2 separate regions of the Homo sapiens genome follow, and region 1 is linked to region 2. The links are contacts of gene promoters, found by promoter capture Hi-C in blood cells and fetal thymus (Javierre and others, 2016). All regions are on one chromosome and are shown on one strand. Each heading gives the region's core, a stretch centred on a gene start or on the middle of the fragment in contact. The rest is flanking DNA. Distances are from core to core; before and after follow the strand shown.

Region 1 (5,328 bases), core at 1,494-3,993, 400 kb after region 2:
CGCCAGGACTCCACCGGGAGCACTCAAGGCTGTCTGCTCCTCGGGGGAGGATGAGTATCAGTCCCTCCCAGCTTCGTGGGAGGAGCTTAAGAAATAGATTCTTGGGCCCAACCCCGGATCCACTGAACCAGGACTTTAGAGGTGAGCCTGGAGTCTGTGTTTTAAGAAGCTCCCAGAGGTAATTCTCCTAAATGTGAAGTCTGAGAACTGCCCCTTACAGGGCAGAGACACTGGGCACTGACACCTCTGCTGGGCATCAGGGAGCGGTGGGCAAAGGAGCAATGGCACCAAGTCATGGCCAGTGTTGGGGGACGGGGAGGAGAGCAGGTGTCCCTGGGAGGTCAAGGCAGGTGGCACCTGCAACCCAAATTTGGGTTCTGAGGGATGAACAGGAGTGTGCCAAGTAGGCAAGGAGCTAGGATGTTCTGGGAAGTTTGCTGAGACCCCAACTCTAGAAAAATGGACAAGGATCAGGCAGAAAGGAAAGGTGGGGGCCACGGAGGGGTGCCAGGGCAAGGGGGAAACTAAGAAGTCAGCCCAAGGGCCAGGCCTGCAGTCAGGAGCATCCAGACAGAGCCCTGCGCTTGACACCTGCTCAGAGTTCAGGGTGAGAGCCAAAGAAAATAAGGAGCGAAACTCATGAGCAGGGCCCTCTGCAGCCAAAGCACCAAGGTGAGCTGGGCATTTAAAACCACGCATCACAGGGATGGCAGGACACGGGCCAACGACTGGGCTGGGTGAGGCCTGGGCCAGACTGGGGTGCGGGCCTGACTCAGGGGGCACTGCCTCCCACCTGCAGCCTGTGACATGTCTGCCTGTTGTCCTGAGAGGCCAGAGGGACTGAACTCCCAAGAGGGAAGTCCAGGTGTGTTAAAGGTTGCTTTAATTTCTCCAGAATCACACGAAACAAAAGCCGTGTGTTCCCTACACACTGCCCGCAGGCCAGGTTGGCTTTTGGCCACCCATCGACACCCTGGGGAGGGGAGAAGACTGGCAGCGGGAGCCTAGCAAGGGGGTTCACCAGACCCAGGAAGAGACCCCGTTCCTTCCTCAGCATTCCTCCTTGTCCCTCAAAGTCTAGCTTAGCGCCAGCAAAGAAGAACTGGCTAGGGGCCCCCCTACTGCACAGCCGATCCCCAGGACCCGGCGCTGCAGCCAGCACGGACAGCTGCCTCCTGCCTCCTGCGTCCTGCCCTCCACCCTCACTCGCCCCTTTCTGTTCTCATCTGACACCAGATTCTCTGCAAGCTGCTGGTGTATGGCCCACCCTCCCCTGTCAGGCCCCTCCTCCTGGTGATAGCCAGCAGGGATGGAGGGCCCACTGTGTGCCTGCCCCAGCCTCAGCACCCTACAGCGCTGGACACACTCACTCCCCGCTCACGGGAGCCCCCAGGCACACAAGTCAGCACCCCATTCTGTGGATCCAGAATCCGCAGCCACCCCTCTGCTATGCCACCCAGCCCCGCGTTCTCCTAGACAGGACAGCTGCCCACCTTCCCCTAGGCCTGGCAGAGGCCTTGGAGGCCAACTTGGAAGGGCGGAGGGAAAGGAAATGGAGGTGCTGCATGCTGCGTGAGCCCCAATGGTGGCCCGTGAAGGCCCACAGGAGGGAGCAGGCAGGCGGGAGGTGGGTAGGGGCCTGAAGGGCAGGGGCCCATGCTAGGGGTGGTGATGAAGACCCTGTCTTGCCCACTCGCCCACTGCCTTGTTGGCCATCATGCTGCCTCCCCACACACCAGGTGCTCCTAGGGCCAGCGCTGTGCCTGTCGGTCCCACCGGGTCCCCAGCACCCAGCACAGGAGAGGCTGGGCGCATGCGGGCAGGTGCGAGGTACTGCAGCGCATTCGCGGACTGACCACTGCATGTGCCTGGCCTCCGGCCACAGCCCGACCCCCTCACTGAGCCAGTTTCATCCTGACAGTACCCTGAGGCTGAAATCATTGTCCCCTCTTTAAAGATACGTAAACCCATGAAAGAAAGCTGGACAGAGCAGGCAGGTGACACAGAGGTGGGTGCAAGGTCCTGAGTCCCTCCACAAAGATACAGCGGGTTCCCCTCCAGACTGCAGACAGGCTCCCGGGCTCCAGAGGCAGGCCCTGACCATCCCGGTGCCACGGGCTCACAGGTTCTGAAGTCAGGGGCACCCAGGCACAGAGAGGAAACAGGCCTGGGCACAAGGCAGGCTCAAGGTCACTTTGCTACTGCAGGAAGTGCAGGACTCTGCCTGGGGCTTTGATCCCAAGCAGGTGCCTTCTCCACTCAGACCCTCGTTCCCTTCTGTCAATGAAGGAGGCCAGATGGCACGCGGGCCCTTCCGGGAAGCGGTGGGGCTCCTCCAGGGGCCGCCCTGCGCCCGCTGAAGCGCCGCCCAGACACACCTCCGGACAGGGAAGTGTGCTGGGGCCTCACCCACGCCGCCCTGGGTCCGGAGCCTTAAAATGTGCGCTCGATGGAGGCCATCCGCGAAGGCCGCCATACAGCAAAGGGAACAGAAAGCGAGAGCCCCGCGGCCGCAGGTCCCAAGACGGGGACTCGAACCGGCGGGGAGGCGCGCAGCTCCCGACTCCCTGCTGCTGCGTCCGACCGCCTCTAGGACCCAGGGGAGCGCCCTGAGCGCGGCACCTCGCTGGCCAATGGGAGAGCGCGACGGCGATACATTTGCATGTGGGCGCGCCGCGGCCAATGGGCGGCGGGCGCGCGGGCGCGCGGGCAGGGGGTGGGGCGCTTCGCGGCGGCGGGCGCAGTCTGAGGATGGCCGCGGCCGCGGCCGGTGGAGCCCCGGGCCCGGCCCCCGGCCCCGCCGGGCCCCCGCCACCCGCCGCGCCGACCTCGGCCGCTCGGGCCCCGCCGCAGGCGCTGCGGAGGCGCGGGGACTCGCGGCGCCGCCAGGCCGCGCTTTTCTTCCTCAACAACATCTCCCTGGACGGGCGGCCCCCGAGCCTGGGCCCGGGCGGAGAGAAGCCCCCGCCGCCGCCCGCCGAGGCCCGCGAACCGCCAGCGCCGCCGCCGCCGGAGCCCCCCACCGGGCTGCCCGCCAGGACCCCCGCGCCCCAGGGCCTGCTCAGCCCCACGCAGGTGCCCACCGGCCTCGGCCTGGATGGGCAGCGCCAGAGGTGAGTGGGGGCCCGGCCAGGTCAGCCCAGGACGCGGGGTACAGGGACGGGGACGGGGGCCGGATCAGCCCAGGACTAGGGGTCAGGATTACTTGGGGCCTCATCAGCCCAGGACAAGGGGGTCAGGTGACCTGGGGCCTTGTCAGCCCTGGACAGAGGCCAGGACAAAGGGGTTGGGTTCACCTGGGGCCTTGTCAGCCCTGGACAGAGGTTCAGGTGACCTGAGCCCCTGTCAACCCAGGACACAGGGGTCAGGGTCAGTCTGGGCCCTCATCAGCCCAGGACACAGGGGTTGGGTTCACCTGGGACCTTGTCAGTCCTGGATACAGAACTGGGGGTTCCTGGGCTGGCTGAGGGTTTCCTCAGGCCCTGTCACCCCCCACACATAGGGTTCATTGTCCCCTGAATTCTCCCAGCCCCTGAATACGGGGTCTGGATCTCCACGTTGTCAGTGCTCTGAAATGGGTTTTAGGGTTCAGCCCTTATTACCCCTGAGACCCCCAGCCCTGTGGGTTCTGGACATGCCCCCACCCCCATCCACTGGTACCAGTGCCCGGGACACAGGGACACATGGACAGCCCTGTGCATCTCTTCGCATTCTTTGAACCGGGCCACACCGTCCATGCCCACCTCCTCAGACCCAGCATGTGGGCCGGGGTCCTCCTGGCACTGTCACTGACACCTGTTCCCAGAGGCCCCTGCACAGCCACATCTCCCATCCCACAGCCACTGGTCTCTGGCACCCCTCCTCTCCCTGTCACTTCCCTGCTGAGCCCCGCCCTTCCCCACATCACTCTCAGCTCGGTATCTTTGGGTCTGTCACACCCTGGGTCTCCACTGCTCCCCCTGCCTTGATTCCATTTCTGGGAACCACCTCAGCCCATCCCAGGGCAACCCCAACCATGAGCCCTGCCTGTCCAGCGTGTGCCCCCTGCCCAGATGGCCCCTGGCTGCCCGACACCCTGTGTCCTTCTCCCAGAGACCACAGGACCTGGGTGACCCTGCCTCCCACAGCCCTCACCTCCAGGAGTGACTGTGGGCTCTGGGCCCAGGACTGGCTGCTTGTTGCGGTTCCTTCTCAAAGGGAGCCACTGTCCACAGGTCCAAGTGCCTGCTGGGCGGCTGTTCCCAGAGGCAGCCCCTGCAGGTGTGCAGCAAAGGGGCCGACACAGAGCTCTTGGGTCAAGGCTGGCACGTGCTCCTTGCTTACCTGGAGGTCATCAGAGTTGCCCCACGCCCCTGGCCTTCGGGCAGGTGGAGGCATTGGGTTCCTCTAAGGTCTTTGGTTGGGGAAGTTTGGGCCCAGAACACAGCACTCTGTCCTCAAAGACTATGACGTCACATGCAGGTTGCGTCACACGCAGGTCGCGGTGCACTCCATCCTTGGAAGTGTTCCTGGCCGTAGCCAGGCTGAGGGTGCCTGCAGACCCAGGCCTGTCCACAAGATGTCCCCCCACGGACATGCCTGGCCGCTGCTCCAGGGAGGGTCAGAGGGATGATTGGGGCAGAGGGATGGATTTGCCCAAATGTGGCAGCCAGGCCCCATGCATTTGGCATGGCCAGCTCCTTCAGGAAGGCGGGAGAGATGGAACAAGGTGGTGACTCTCCAGGGCAGAGCGGCAAGGCCCTAAGGTGTGGACTCCAGGGGAAGCGGGCTCACCCCAACGGGCCGAGCTCCGCAGGTGTGGTGGGCTTTTCCCTAACCCCGGGCCCTGTTGTTTGACATGGAAACAGCTTTCTCCCTCAGTCCTGCATGTTGAGTGTCCAGAACCGGATGGTGACACCAGGCAGACTGGGTGCTGTCATAGGCCCTCCTTCCACAGAGTTCATGCACCCCTGTGTGCACCAGGCCTGGCGTGGAGTGGAGCCCACTTGAGTGGAGGGAGGCAGAGCGTGGCGACGCGCAGGGAAGTGCCTGTGACTGAGAAGGCACCCCCTGCAGGCCCAGAGCCTCCATGGTGACAGTTCTGAGCGCAGCATGCTGCCCACGTGCAGCACATCCCTGCCCTGTGGGATTGTTAGAAGGTGCGCTGTGGCCGGCATCCCTGGGACAGGATGGGACGTGGCATGGGCTGGGTGCCTGCAGTCCTCCTGCCGTACCCACCATGGGCCCAAGCGCCACCACCCCTTGCCTTGCCCAGGGCTGTCTCCTCCCTTCCCTCCTCCTTGGCCCCCATGTCCCTGTTCAGGTCTTTCCTGAACCCCACTCTGTTCC
Region 2 (5,257 bases), core at 598-3,097:
CTAGAAGGGGGGTTAGGAGGCCCGGTCAGCCACTGTATCCCCTGGCTCCCCGCTGAGCTCCAGCTGGGACCTGGCGTTGCCTCTCTGCCTGATTTTTCTTTCTTATTTTTTTCCCCTCGAGATGGAGCTTCATGCAATCTCCACCTCCCAGGCAATCTCCACTCACTGCAACCTCCACCTCCCAGGCAATCTCCACTCACTGCAACCTCCACCTCCCAGGTTTAAGCGATTCTCCTGCTTCAATCTCTGGAGGAACTGGGATTACAGGTGCCCATCACGCCTGGCTAATGTTGTATTTTTAGTAGAGACAACAGTTTCACCATGTTGGCCAGGCTAATCTTGGACTCCTGACCTCTGGTGATCCGACTGCCCAGGCCTCCGAAAGTGCTGGGATTACAGGCCTGAGCCACCGCCACCGACCTCTCGGCCTGATTTCTCAACAGGGCCGCTGGTGTGGTTCTCTCGCCCCGCCTGATCATCAGTTTCTACTTCTCCTTCCTGGGGCCAGCGGGAGCCTCCCTGGGTCAGTTCTGGAGGCTGGGTCCTGACTGGATGTGGCCACACAGTCAGCCCACAGGTGCATACATGACACTGCCCAGGAAAAAGTGAAACAGCCCCGCCAGGGTCCAGCGCAGGCAGCTGGGGAGGCCTGAGGGGTCCAAAGGGGAAGGGGAGGGGCTTGTGGACAGAAGCCACAGCAGGAGGCAGAGGGAAGAGGTCAGGGGTCACGGGCGCCTGGCAGGATGGTCAGGGCCTCTGAGCACCGCTTCAGGAGAGCGGCCTGAGGAACTCCAGTGAGGAAAGCCCGTCAAGAGCCCACCCAGGGGTCACACCGTCCTGTGGGACAGAGCCAGACCCCACCCCCCTGCCCAGCCTGCCTGGCCGCTGCCCTCCCGGCGACAGGGCGGAGCCCCTCCGTGCTCTCTCACTGCCCGCTCCACCATGGCCAGGCGCAAACGCAAACAGTGCTGGGTGCCAAGGGGAGAATCCATGCGGAGCCGTCGAGTTCCATGCACTTCCCGGCCCTCCGCAACCCGGGCAGCTCAGCTGGAAGGCCGCTCCCAGATCAATCCCAGCTCCCCGACAGGGGGGCCGGACTGCGACAGTGTGGCGTTCCCAGCGCGGCAACAAAAGTAACCCCGGCGATGACAGGCGCCCGGCGGTAACAAAAGTAACAAGCGGAGGCCCCGTCGGCCCGCCCCGGGCTCCCGCAGGTGCAGACGCGAAGCCTCCCAGGCCAGACCCGGCCCGGGCCCCAGCCCCAGCCCCAGCCCCAGCCCCAGCCCCAGGCCGCGGGGCCTGCGCAGGGGCCGCCAGGAGGCCGAGGCGCGGGCCCGAGGCGGGAGGGGTTCCATCAGGGGCGGCCACGGCGGCTGGGGGCGGGACGCGCCCGAGGCACCCCCGGGGGGAACGGCGCCCACACACGATGGGGCCCGGGAGGCTCAGCTCCGCTGTCACCCACGCGCGGCCCCCGCACTTCCCCGCCGGGCCCTGGGGCTGGGGGTCGGCCGGTCTGGGGGGGGGTCCCCGGGGCTGCGGGAGCTCCAGGAGGCTCCAGGTGTCTCCGCCCGGGATGGGGGGGTCTCCCGTCCACGCAGCCGGGCGGGGGGCGCCGGGGACCCCAGGCCTCTTCCGCGCCGCGGGGCCGCACCTGGAACGAGCTGGGCCGCGCCGCCCGCGGCTCCTCCGACTCCTCGTCCTCGTCCCCTGCGTCCGCGTCCCTCGCGCCGGCGGCCTCGCCGTCCTCGCAGTCCTCGTCCTCCGCGTCCTCCGCATCCTCCTCGTCCTCCTCCCAGGTGGAGTCGCAGTCGGGGTCGTCCATGCTCGGCGGCGGCGGGGCTCGCGCTGGAGGCGGAAGCGAAACCGAAAGCAGAGGAAGCGCGGGGGGCGGGCGGGGGGAGGGGACGGAGCGGCCCAGGCCCCGCCCGCGTCCGCGCGCAACGCCCCTCCCTCCCCGGGACGCCCGCCCCGCGCCCCTCCCTCCCCCGAGAATCCCCCAACGTCCGCCCGGGAGGATGCCCCTCGCGGAACGCCCACCCCCACCCCACGATGCCCACCCGGGAGGATTCGCCCCACCCCGTCTCGCAAGGATGCCCGCCCTAGGAGATCCTCCCTCCCGAAAATGTCCCCAAAGCCTGCCCGCCCCCCAGAGGACGGTCTCCCCGGAAGATGAGCCGGGTACCTAGGAAGGATGTCTTCCCGACGATGTCCTCCCAGCAGGATTCTCTCCCCGGAGGATGCCTGCCCCGCAGAGAATCCCCTCTTCCAGGAATATTTCTGTCCCCCAAGAGAAATCCCCCCAGAGGATGTCCCCATCAGAAGAATGTCCCTTGGAGGATAACCCCCGGAGGGGCCACGTGTCCACAGGGGCCTCTCTCCCTAAGCTGGGTGTGTAGGGGTCTCTGTCCTTCTGCTGCGGGCTGGGGGCCTTACTCAGCTCCTGGAAGCTGCTGGCGGACCCCTGTCCCTCCATAGGCAGTGCAAAGCACGGCCGTTTTCTTTTCAAAGCCACCAGGGGAGTCTTTCTCTCTAGGGTGCCGAGTCTTATATAACCAGGATGACATGGGCAAGCCGTGGCTTCCTTCACCTTTGCCGCCATCTCTCAGTTGTAAGAAGGCACTTAGGGGAGAGGACCACACGAAGCCTGGGCCACCGGGAGGGTCACCCTGGGGACTGTTCAACACAGCTGATGCCAGTTCAGCGCCTCCTCAGGGCCCTCTCTCTAAGCACTGGCAGATATGGGGCAACACAAAGTCACTTTCACCTGCCATTTCCCAGCACCGCGGGTCCCTTGCTCATCCACCTTTGACATCTGCTGGCAGATACATGGCAAGGTTGGTGACCTCTTGAAATAAAAATCAGGAGTGGCCACTCCAGATAAATTTCTTCTGTAACTGCTATACCAATTCATTTCAAAACATTTAGGTAAAACTAAATCTGGATTTTGGACTTGGCCATGAGGATAGCTCCTCGCAGAGTTGTCCCTGTAATGATGGTGGTGGAAAGGTGGAGAAGGCCCCAGCCCAGCCCCTAGGGGACACTGCCATCTCCTAGCCCTGCAGGCCTGCTGGGCCTGGGAACTGGTGACATTCCTTGTACTGTGTGCCAGGGACAGCCGTGAACGCAAGTCTTCCAATCCTGGCCACAAGTACAGGTTAAGGACCCTCTGGGTGCTGGGCCCTAATCTTTGCTGACCTGTTGACCACTGTTAGCAGGTGCAGTCTCACCTGGCTGGAACCTGTGGACATGCATCACACTTTCTTGAAACGACAGTGGTGATGCCCCGAAGTTCTGGGGCGCTGGACATTTCTGTAAATCAACTTAGTGCAGTGGCCAGGGCAGGTTTCCCAGGGAGCCTGAGTGAGCTGCCTGACCTCCTTGTTAGATGATTTACAGGTGGGATCTGGTTGCAGCATCAGAATAGACTGTGAGGTGGAGTCGGGGGGCTCTGATGGGGACATTGATGGGTGCTGGGTGGTTGTATAGGGTTTGGGTGATCTGAGACTTGGGTGGTCAGGCTGCCCCCTCCACTGCCCCAGAAAACAGAAAGACAAGCATACTGGGTGCTGACAACATTGTTCTACGGGGACAGCATTCCCGCTGCTACCTACTGTCGGCAGGACTATAGAACCACTTCCCTAAAAAGAGTATTAGAGACATTGCCCAACTTCTGTTTTACAAATATCACCACACCAAATTGCTTCTTTAGTTGCTTTTGTGTTGTGTGTGTGTGTGTGTGTGTGCAGAGCTCATCTCGGGGGCGTGCTAATCCAAGAAGTGCAGGAGCTGCTGCAGGGGACTGTGCAACAGAATTGCTTCTTCAGAGCATCCTCTGCAGTCCAGTGACGCCCCGTGTGGCACGGCATTCCAGAAGGGTTTGCTGTTGAGGCTGGGGAAAGGGGCTCTCTTTCTCTGTCACATACTCACACACACACACACACACACACACACACACACACACACACACACACAGCTCCCAGGCACCCAGGAAGGGCAATGGTCTCTGCACACGCAGTGGGTGATGTGCCTGGAGCAGGCAATGCTCACAGCTAAGGAGCCCAGCAGAATTTTGTGTGGCTGGGAGCTTGGATTACAGCCTTCATATCTTCTCCAGGCAAGACCAGTGGCAGCCTCCTGATTTGGCCCAAGCATGCCCTGTCCTCAATCAACCAGCCAAGCAGGGAGCCTCGCTGCCAGTGCCCTGCCGCTCAGTATTTATTCGCTGCTATTTGGGGAGCAGTGGAGCCCAATTGCCTTTCCCAGTCACCCCTGGGTCGCCCTGGGTGGGCAGGCGGGGGAGTTCAGATCACTCCCACTCTCAGCCTTCACTGAGTCCCCACCCGCAGCTGCCAGCCATAGAGAAAATGTCTCTGCGGCAGCAGGTGCTCTTGGGCCCTGCGTGTTCCAGGTGTAGAGCCGCTGCTGAGGCTTCCAGGCTCAACATCAGCGGCGGCTTCTGACCCGTTCAGATCTTGTCCCGAGTGCACAGTGTACCACGTCTCGCCTCTACAGCAGCAGGCGCGTGAGCGTCCGTGCACGGGCCAGCCTCATGCCAGCTGTTTTCCTTTTCAGATTGGGGTTCAGTCGGCACCTTCTACATGACATGGTGGAGTGTGCATTACATAAAGCCCCCAGGTTACAGACAGGACCCCTGGGGCCAGGAGAGGGTAAGTACAGCGCTTACCAGGACTTGAGGCCACATCGCCCTTGCCCTGACACTTGTGAATTTGACCTGGTCATCCCACCTGCCAGCAGAGCATGAACTGGGCCTCCCCACAGGGAAGCCCAGAAGCCCCTGTGAGTCCATAAGGGCTGCGTGGCTCCTGACTTCAACCAGTCAGCCTCTGGTCCAGAAGGGAGGCCCGGGGCGGGGGCACGCTGCTCACCTGCCCAGTGGGCTTAACCTGTGGGCTCTAGCTTTCTCCTGGAAGTGCAGCAAAATGTTACAGTAATCGAGATGAGGCAGATTTATTAACTAGGCTTTCCTAGCACAATCTGAGGTCACCCGAGATGCGGTTTCAGATGGAGGTTTAGGACAGTGAGCCTGGGTGGCGAGCAGGACTCCTCCTGGCCATCCCGTGACACCCCGTGTTAGTATTTGCCCCCCTTTGCCCTGCTGCTTCTGGACTGCCTAAGAGCCAGGCTGCTGTCCCGGACTGAGACTCCAGGACAGGACCTGGCACAAAGCCCTGAATGAGGCTGACCTAACAGGAGAGATCAGACGGGCAAGGGGGCACACTTGGGCAGCAAAGGGAGA

Evidence for each region. Contacts are between HindIII fragments. The CHiCAGO score rates a contact against its expected background, and 5 or more counts as called.
Region 1: the fragment with the promoter of CABLES2 here is called in contact with the fragment with the promoter of OGFR in region 2 in 1 of 17 cell types (megakaryocytes); the score reaches 5.4 in megakaryocytes.

The regions. Positions count from the first base shown.
Region 1 is chr20:62,404,700-62,410,027 of GRCh38, reverse strand. CABLES2 (Cdk5 and Abl enzyme substrate 2) reads left to right here and starts at 2,743. Exons shown (of 10, transcript NM_031215.3): 1 at 2,743-3,113. The coding sequence starts at 2,752. It overlaps LOC105372709 (a long non-coding RNA gene), which reads left to right and starts at 3,134. Exons shown (of 2, transcript XR_936967.3): 1 at 3,134-5,138. RefSeq lists a silencer at 2,577-2,826. The HindIII fragment of the contact is 20,791 bases long and covers 1-5,328 here.
Region 2 is chr20:62,801,425-62,806,681 of GRCh38, reverse strand. OGFR (opioid growth factor receptor) reads right to left here and starts at 1,847. Exons shown (of 7, transcript NM_007346.4): 1 at 1,652-1,847. The coding sequence starts at 1,822. It overlaps OGFR-AS1 (OGFR antisense RNA 1), which reads left to right and starts at 1,095. Exons shown (of 3, transcript NR_102430.1): 1 at 1,095-1,214; 2 at 4,573-4,667. MRGBP (MRG domain binding protein) reads right to left here. Exons shown (of 5, transcript NM_018270.6): 5 at 4,953-5,257. RefSeq lists silencers at 914-973, 1,124-1,293, 1,354-1,503, 1,584-1,653 and an enhancer at 1,169-2,074. The HindIII fragment of the contact is 9,717 bases long and covers 1-5,257 here.